2 separate regions of the Homo sapiens genome follow, and region 1 is linked to region 2. The links are contacts of gene promoters, found by promoter capture Hi-C in blood cells and fetal thymus (Javierre and others, 2016). All regions are on one chromosome and are shown on one strand. Each heading gives the region's core, a stretch centred on a gene start or on the middle of the fragment in contact. The rest is flanking DNA. Distances are from core to core; before and after follow the strand shown.

Region 1 (4,435 bases), core at 583-3,082, 210 kb before region 2:
GTTGCCCAGGCTGGATTGCAGCGGCGTGATCTCGGCTCACTTGCAACCTCCGCCTCCCAAGATCAAGCTATTCTCCTGCCTCAGCCTCCTGAGTAGCTGGGATTACACGCATGTGCCACCATGCGTGGCTAATTTAAGATAGGTCTTTGGATAGAAGTTACCACTAGAAGTCATTGTAGTCACATACAAAGGAATGATAGATAAAAACCATGGCCAGTTCACTTAGTAAAAATGTTCTATAAGTTTTCTGCTAAATGAATGCATGGTAATAACATCCTAATTTTAGATAAGGTTTCAGGAAAATGGTTACATAAAAAGTTAAAACTAAAATACTGTTTTCTTTTTTTTTTTTTGGAGATGGAATTTCGCTCTTGTCACCCAGGCTAGAGTGCAATGGTGTGATCTCGGCTCACTGCAACCTCCGCCCCCTGGGTTCAAGCGATTCTCCTGCCTCAGCCTCCCAAGTAGCTGGGATTACAGGCACCTGCCACCACACCTGGCTAATTTTTGTAATTTTAGTAGAGACAGGGTTTCACTATGTTGGCCAGGCTGGTGTCAAACTCCTGACCTCAGGTAATTCACCTGTGTTGGCCTCCCAAAATGCTGGGATTATGGGTTTTTTTGTTTGTTTGTTTGTTTGTGGAGATGAAGTTTTGCTCTGTCACCTAGGCTGGAAAGCAATGGCACGATCTTGGCTCGGCTCACCACAACCTTCGCCTCCTGGGTTCAAGGGATTCTCCTGTCTCAGCCTCCCGAGTAGCTGGGATTACAGGTGTGCGTCACTACGCCTAGCTAATTTTTTGTATTTTTTTTCTGAGATCGAGTTTTGCTCTTGTTGCCCAGGCTGGGGTACAGTGTCACGATCTTGGCTCACTGCAACCTCCACCTCCTAGGTTCAAGCGATTCTCCTGCCTCAGCCTCCTGAGTAGCTGGGATTACAGTCGTGCGCCACTAAATCCAGCTAATTTTTTGTATTTTTAGTAGAGACGGTTTCATCATGTTGGCCAGGCTGGTCTTGAATTCCTGACCTCAGGTGATCCACCCACCTCAGCCTCCCAAAGTGTAGGGATTACATGCGTGAGCTACCGCGCCCGGCCAATTTTTTGTACTTTTAATAGAGACAGGGTTTCCCCATGTTGGCCAGGCTGGTCTCGAACTCCTGACCTCAAGTCGTCCACATGCTTTGGCCTCTCGAAGTGCTGGGATTACAGGTGTGACCCACCACGCCCGGCCTATTATTATTATTTTTGAGACAGGGTCTCGCTCTGTCACCCAGGCTGGAGTGCAGTGGCACAATCACGGCCTACTGCAGCCTTGACCTCCTAGGCTCAAGTCCCCTGAGTAGCTGGGACTACAAGAACAAGCCACCATGCCTGGCTAATTTTATTTTTATTTATTTATTTTTTGTAGAGGCAGGGTTTCGCCCTGTTGCCCAGGCTGGTCTCAAACCCCTGGGCTCAAAAGCAATCTGTCCCACTTGGCCTCCCAAAGTGCTGGGATAATAAGTCAGCCACTGCACTTGGCCTGTATCACTTAAACACATTTTTTTGAAGATGAAAAACAGAGTCTCAATGTGAAATTTCATTTTTCATTTTACTTTTGAATGTTATATAGAAAACAGTACAATATATGGCTTATTTTTGAGGTACTACAGTTTTAATATTTTTTTCCCCTCTGATGACATGCTAGTGTTTAGCCTGATGCTTTTAAGTTTCCCCCCCTTTTTTTTTTCTGAGACGGGGTCTCCCTTAATCACCCAGGCTGGGGTGCAGTGGTGTGATCTTGGCTTACTGCAGCCTCAACCTCCCAGGCTCCGGTAATCATCCCACCTCAGTCCCCCAGGTAAGCTGGGACTACAAGGGCGTATCACATGCCTGGCTAATTTTTTGTATTTTTAGTAGAGACAGGGTTTTGCCATGTTGCCCAGGCTGGTCTTGAACTCCTGGGCTTAAGCCATCTGCCCACTTCGGTCTCCCAAAGTGCTGGGAGTACAGATGTGAGCCACCGCGCCTGGCTGAGTTCCAAAATAATTTCTAGTACTGAGGCTAATCACAGAGATCTCTCAAAATTAAAAGATTACTGCTTCCTCTTTAAGATCTAAACATTATTGTCTCTCTTTTTGGAGCCCTTCTTCCTCCACTGCCAGCTTCATCTCTCCCTAATCCCACCCTTCACCTCATCTAGGGCCCCACACTAAGGCAAATAAACAAACATAAACATAAGATGACAGCAAGTATGAGAAATTTAAAAATAAAAATAATTTTCTTTACTAATTTCAGAAAATCCTTTTTTTTTTTTGAGACAGTGTCTCACTCTGTTGCCCAGGCTGGAGTGCAGTGGCGTGATCTCGGCTCACTGCAACCTCTGCCTCCTAGGCTCCTGTGACTCCCGTGCCTCAGCTGGGACTACAGGCATGCGCTACCATACTTGGCTAATATTTGTATTTTTAGTAGATACAGGGTTTCACCATGTTGGCCAGGTTGACTTCAGAAAATACTGATAGCATTATTATTATTTATTAGCAAGAGTAATATTACAACAGTATAAATGACCTGGCACACCTCTAAGTTACTTTAGTAACTCTGAAGCTCTCTGTAAAAAAATAAGTGTGTTATGTGCATAGTGCAATGTCATATTTCTTTAGTAGTATCTTTTGAGGTTGTATTCCATCATGGATCAAGAACGTACTTGAATAAAAAGGTGAGGTACCTAGTGATAATTTTAAATATGTTATCTAATGTCTTAAAACATTATTTCCAAGTAATGAGAATTAAAAAAAAGGAAGTCACAGAAGGTGGTCACAGCATAAGTAAGCATTATGGTTAAAATGTAACTGTAGGCAGTCCTTGCTTTGTAAGTAGCAGAGTAAGAGACATTCAAGCGATGCTTGTTAGACTTTTGTCAGCACTGATAACTGGCTTGCTATTAATGCCAGCCCAGTTCCAGCTAGTGTTTGTGAGCGTGTTCTAAAGGATGTCTGGCAGTAAGAGCTGGGTAGAGTGAAAGTGAAACTGTGCCATGTTTCTCACTGGGAGATACTGAAATAAGTTACTAACTGCTGGATAAATGTCACTCAAAAGCAGTCTCTTGGCTTTTTCTTAAACAGTGGGCAACCTTCCCTTTGAATTCTCCATTTCTGTCATTCCCTCATTCTTCTCATGCATTGACATTAGCAGGCGAGTCTCTATTAGGGTCGGCCAAAATAAAAATGACACTAATTATGGTTTCCAAGGTGTAGCACAGGAGCAAGCATTCTTTTGGCTTTTATCCTTCCCAGGCTCATGAAGAACAGAAATGCACATATTACCACAGAGAAGTGCTCATAAAGAAAGGTGTGTACTTTAGCACGGAAATTTAAAAGTGTCTATTGAGACTGAATTGAGAGCATCATTAGAGTTTAGTCACAGTATGGCTAAATAGGTTTTTATGCTTGTCAAATAATTTACCAACTTTTATATTATTTCTTCTTTTTTAAAAAATGTTTAAAACAGAGAGGGGGACTTGTTATGTTGCCCAAGGTGGTCTCAAACTTTTGGTCTCAAGCAATCCTGCCTTGGCTTCCCAAAGTGCTGGGAATACAGGTGTGGGCCACCACACCTGGCCTATATTATGTCTATGAGAAAGAATATTCTAATACAAATGATTTTTTATTACAATAACCCCTGTTTATTATATTCATGAGTTTTTGCTTATTATCATTTCCAGACAAGTTCTTCTTTTTTTTTGAGTCGGAGTCTCATTCTGTTGCCAGGCTGGAGTGCAGTGATGCAATCTCAGCTCACTGCAACCTCTGCCTTCCAGGTTCAGGTGATTCTCCTGCCTCAGCCTCCCGAGTAGCTGGGACTACAGGCATGCGCCACCATGCCCAGCTAACTTTTGTGTTTTTAGTAGAGACGGGGTTTTACCATGTTGGCCAGGCTGGTCTCAACCTCTTGACCTCATGATCCGCCCGCCTTGGCCTCAAAAAGTGCTGGGATTACAGGCGTGAGCCACCACGCCCAGCCTCCAGACAAGTTTTTAAAGAAGCAAAATAAAACAAAAACACACACGTACACGTGAGGTAGGAAGCCATGTCCAAGGTGGCATACCCTTATACAGGAATAAAGTGGGCTATATTTCCAAATACTGTGATTTTAGATACATTATTATTTGGCTCTCAAAGGAACCAGTAGTATATGAAATGCAGTGTATGTGTGAGATACTGGAAAATACAGACATAGAAGGTAAACTTGAACATGTATGGTAAATAAAGTGTTCTACTGTTAAACAAATCTGCGTAACTTCCCCTAATATCTAAACAGTGGGGAATCTGAATGCGTAATATCCGTAAAGAGTACAACCTCCAATGAGATACCAAAATGTTTTAAGTATTTTTATTTTTCAAGATATGTTAAATAATTGGATATGTTTTAAAGGGTGCCTTCAAAAATTACGT
Region 2 (4,768 bases), core at 951-3,450:
CCCAAAGTGCTAGGATTACAGGAGTGAATCACTCATCAATTCCAAGGGGCTAGAACTCCCAGGAACTGGGGACAAAGGCCAGCCAAATTCTTTATTATGCAACCTCGTGTTACTGGAAAAGGATCCAGATCCAGACCCCAACAAAGGGTTCTTGGATCTTGCCTAAGAAAGAATTTGGGGCCAGTCCACAGAGTAAAGTGAAAACAAGTTTATTAAGAAAATAAAGAAGATCACTCACGGTGGCTCATGCCTGTAATCCCAGCACTTCGGGAGGCCGAGGTGGGTGGATCACCAGATGTCAGGAGTTTGAGACTAGCCTGGCCAACATGGTGAAACCCCATCTCTACTAAAAATACAAAAATTTGCTGGGTGTGGTGGCACATGCCTGTAATCCGAGCTACTGGGGAGGCTGAGGCAGGAGAATCGCTTGAACCCAGGAGGTGGAGGTTATAGTGAGCCAAGATCATGCCACTGCACTCCAGCCTGGGTGACAGCAAGACTGTCTCAAAAAAAAAAAAAAAAAAAAAAAAAAGTGAAAGGTTACTTTGTAGAATGGTGCATACCCTAAAGCAAGAGAAGGAACATGTCCACCTTAGGTACAAGGCTTGTTTGTATTGAACAGCAAAAAAATGAGGAAGATGAGCTCTACTCCAAGAGCTTGTGACAAAGGATTTTTTGTGTGTTTGTTTTGAGACGAGGTCTTACCCTGTCACCCAGTTTGGACTGCAGTGGTACAATCATAACTCAACTGCAGCCTCAACCTCCTGGGATTAAGGGATACTTCCGCATCATTCCCCATGTAGTTGGGACCACAGGTGTGTGCCACCACGCCTGGCTAAGTTTTTAATTTTTTTGTGGAGACAGGGTCTCACCATGTTGCCCAGGCTGGTGTTGAACTCTTGGGCTCAAGCTATCCGCCCATCTGGGCCTCCCAAAGTGCTGGGATTACAGGTGTGAGACACTGCCTGGTCTTTGTCAAAGGACTGTTAATCCTGTGTAACTACTGTCTTCTGCAAGGATCAATATTATCTTTAAAGGGAAAATTAAACTAAGAATGCTTTTGTTCTTAAGATATCAGGACATCAGGACATTTCCTGGGTCTGTTAGGTAAACATTATTAACTTGTTCCCTTCCCTGTAAATATCCTGTGACCAAGAATGCCAAACTTCCTGGGAATGTGCCCCAATAGGTCTCAGCCTCATTTTACCCAGCCCCTATTCAAGGTAAGGTAGCTCTGGTTCCAATGTCTCTTGACACTGATGCTTGACTTCGATACCCCTCAACTTACAGTGTCTGTTTAATGCCTGCTTTCTGCCCACGATTTTCCTTGTCAATATCTTAAGTTAGATCATATATATATATATTTTGTTTTTTTGAGACGGACTCCTGATCTGTCACTCAGGCTGGAGTGCAGTGGCTCGATCTTGGCTCACTGCAACCTCTGCCTCCTGGTTCAAGCGATTCTCCCGCCTCAGCCTCCAGAGTAGCTGGGATTACAGGCCCCGGCCACCATGGCCAGCTAATTTTTGTATTTTTAGTAGAGACAGGGTTTCACTATGTTGGCCAGGCTGGTCTCAAACTCCTGGCCTTAAGTGATCCGCCTGCCTCGGCCTCCCAAAGTGTTGAGATTACAGGCGTGAGCCACCGCGCCTGGCCTGATCATGTGTATGTTTTCGTGTGGCTATAAAACAATTCACGTTTTCTATTTTTTCTTCAATTGTGTATATTTTTCAAGAAATTACTCCATTTAATTTTATTCCAGTTATCATAAAATGAGGCTATCCTGTAACATTCTTTTGAAATGGAACCACTACGCACAATGGATTGTGGCAACCTGAAAAGAAAGTACAGTTTAATTCAAACAAGTCACAGGCTGCCTGTGTTAGACAAGATGAAGCATTCGCAGTCTGGGACCCTGCATCTCTGTCTGCCACAAACAAGGCTGTCAGCTAGTCTTCTGAGTACGTGCACGCCAGTAACGCGTACGCCTCGTTACAGCATGGTCGGCGGATATGAAAAAAAGTCCGTGGTCACGTGCAAATTCCCGACTCCAGTGCGTACACCCAGCGGCGCAGGGGAAACGCCGGCTTCGCCCACTGCGCAGGCGCAGGAGCCGCGCTCTGGGCCTCTGCTCAGGCTCTGCCGCGGACGACCTCGAGGCCCTTAGTTGACTGGGACCGGAAGTGGCGTGTGCTCGGCCTTTCTGTGTTCCTGGCCCGCGGCCGTCGGGTGTGAGCTGCGCCGACCGCTCTGAGGGTTCGTGGCCCACCGCTCCTTCGCGGTCCCTGCCGCCACCGTCCACGCTCAGCGTTGTAGAGAAGATGGTGGGTCGGAACAGCGCCATCGCCGCCGGTGTATGCGGGGCCCTTTTCATTGGGTACTGCATCTACTTCGACCGCAAAAGACGAAGTGACCCCAACTTCAAGAACAGGCTTCGAGAACGTGAGTGGGTCCTCTCTCCCCTGGCCAGGCTTGCTGCCTTCGGCCGCCGCCCTTCACAGGAGGGGTCATTGCCTCCCACCAGCCTGTGGGCCGCGCAGGGCGACCGCGTGGTGCGGCCCTCAATAGGCGATGGCGCTGGCTGCGCCGCTCCGGGGGCTCTAGTGCCCCGTAGGAATTCCATTTTGGAGGAAGGATTTTTCCCGTTTTGTTTTCCCCAGACACTTTAGCCGTGCAAATGCACTCTTGATTTCTGTTGCAATCTCGGGTGTGTGTGGCCTGGGGAGGAGGTTGTCTCTTTTTTTGTCGTTCATCTTTTTAAACCTCTACTCTTAACTAAAAAGTCGTGCATTTTTGTCGCAAATTTTAGTCTGAGGCTAAATCCGCATGCTCAGTGCAGTATCATTGTTGCATTCTTTTTTTTGAGACGGAATCTCGCTCTGTCGCCCAGGCTGTAGTGCAGTGGCGCGATCTCGGCTCACTGCAACCTCCGCCTCCCGAGTTCAAGCGCTTCTCCTGCCTCAGTCTCCCCAGTAGCTGGGATTACAGTCGGGCGTCACCACGCCCGGTGATTTTTTGTGTTTAGTAGAGACGGGGTTTCACCGTGTTGGTCAGGCTAGTCTCGAACTCCTGACCTCAGATGATCCGCCTGGCTCATTGCTGCATTCTTAAACCCTCTTGGTAGCTTCGTTCTAAGTGCTTCCAAGATATGAGTGAATGCTATAGAAATTGCAGGGGAGTCCAAAGGGCTGCGCTTCTCCCGTGGCTCAGTCTTATTTCATACCTGCGACATCTTTTAAGAGAGGTCTACCAGAGGGGAATCGTGTCATGAAAACCGTTGTGATCCACCTTGAATTTTCGGAGAATCTTCATTCGCATCATTGAAGAGCAAATTTGTTGCAATAAGAAATATTTTTTGGCTTATCTTGGTTGTTCAGCCAAATTAGTTTTTGGAATTAAAATTGATACGTAAGTTACTAAAGCCCAAGGGGTACAAAGAAGGGATTATTGTTTACTTAAGTAACAGTGGTTACGGTTTAATTCAGCTATACTAAGTCATTTCAAGTGTTCAGTAGCCCTGTGTGAGCAGTGACTGCAGCGCTGATCTTACTAGCACTAAGAATCAGACATCTAGTTCCAGCTTTCTTATGTTTTAGGAGGGAAGGGATATAGACATAATTTGATTTATGACTAGGCAGACTAATAGAATACTGTTTTACATTCAGACCTTGAATTTCTAGGGCCAGGTTAGCGGCATAATTTGGGGTTTCTGAATCCTAATTTCTGTAGTTGTAAAATCAGGTAATGCCACCTACCTCTTGTTGATCTTGTGAAGGTTGAGATGTTTGAATTGCCTTCCACGTTTTCTGACATAGGAAATGCTCCTCCATAAATGCTGGTGGTCATTCTGCCTTCGGGTTATTGTCCTGTAGTTGCCAAAATGGGTGACAGCTGGGGGCTTTGGTACAAATGCAGAGTTATAAAGAATGGATTAACCCTATCTTCCGTTGGAAACCCTGAAGTCCTGTTGCAGAAACAAGAGCTATCATTTTAGACAAATGGAGGAATGTTATTTCAAAATAACTTCTCCATCATTTTCAATCTAAAATTGTTTTTTCTGGATTTAGCGGCAACCTAATGATTACAGTGAATTACTTAGCTGCAGCAGTAACTTTAGGCAAGTAACTTCAAGCTTTAGTTTTCCCTTTTTGTAAAATGGTATAGTGTAGAGTTTTAGTCCTGTTCCTCACACATGGTAATTGATGAATGCTAGAGATTTTTTGTTGTTGTTGTTTGTTTGTTTGAGTCTCGCTCTGTCGCCCAGGCTCGAGTGCAGTGGGGTGATCTCGGATCATTGCAACCTCCGCCTCCCGGGTTCAAGCAATTCTGCCTCAGCCTCCTGAGTAGCTGGGATTACAGGCGCACACCACCATGCCAGGCTAATTTTTGTATTTTTAGTAGAGACAGGGTTTCACCATATTGGCCAGGTTGGTCTCGAACTCCTGACTTCATGATCTGCCCGTCTCAGCCTCCCAAAGTGCTGGGATTACAGGCGTGAGCCACCGCGTCCGGATGAGATATTTTTATGAGTAGAAATATTTTGTTGTTTGATGTTTTTGTAAAATTTATTTAGAATAATCTTGCAGTCTGTTCACAGGTAATTGAGGCTGGGTGTGGTGGCTCAACGCTAGTAATCTCAGCACTTTGGGAGGCCGAGGTGGGCGGATCACCTCATGTCAGGAGTTCAAGCAGCCTGGCCAGCATGGTGAAACCCCCACTCTGCTAAAAATACAAAAATTAGCCGGGTGTGGTGGTGCACGCCGGTAGT

Evidence for each region. Contacts are between HindIII fragments. The CHiCAGO score rates a contact against its expected background, and 5 or more counts as called.
Region 1: a contact is called between a fragment that was not itself captured here and the fragment with the promoter of TOMM20 in region 2, in 1 of 17 cell types (naive CD4 T cells). The highest score is 5.3, in naive CD4 T cells.

What each region holds. Positions count from the first base shown.
Region 1 is chr1:235,335,680-235,340,114 of GRCh38, reverse strand. All of the region lies in intron 2 of GGPS1 (geranylgeranyl diphosphate synthase 1), which reads right to left. Among named protein-coding and RNA genes, the nearest start is that of GGPS1, 9.3 kb to the right of the region's middle. The HindIII fragment of the contact is 7,848 bases long and covers 1-4,435 here.
Region 2 is chr1:235,126,269-235,131,036 of GRCh38, reverse strand. It overlaps TOMM20 (translocase of outer mitochondrial membrane 20), which reads left to right and starts at 2,200. Exons shown (of 5, transcript NM_014765.3): 1 at 2,200-2,442. The coding sequence starts at 2,322. SNORA14B (small nucleolar RNA, H/ACA box 14B) reads left to right here and starts at 3,100; the gene lies at 3,100-3,234. LOC105379283 (a long non-coding RNA gene) reads left to right here and starts at 2,836. Exons shown (of 2, transcript XR_949295.4): 1 at 2,836-3,408; 2 at 4,068-4,118. RefSeq lists enhancers at 1,923-2,022, 2,253-2,472. The HindIII fragment of the contact is 4,902 bases long and covers 1-4,134 here.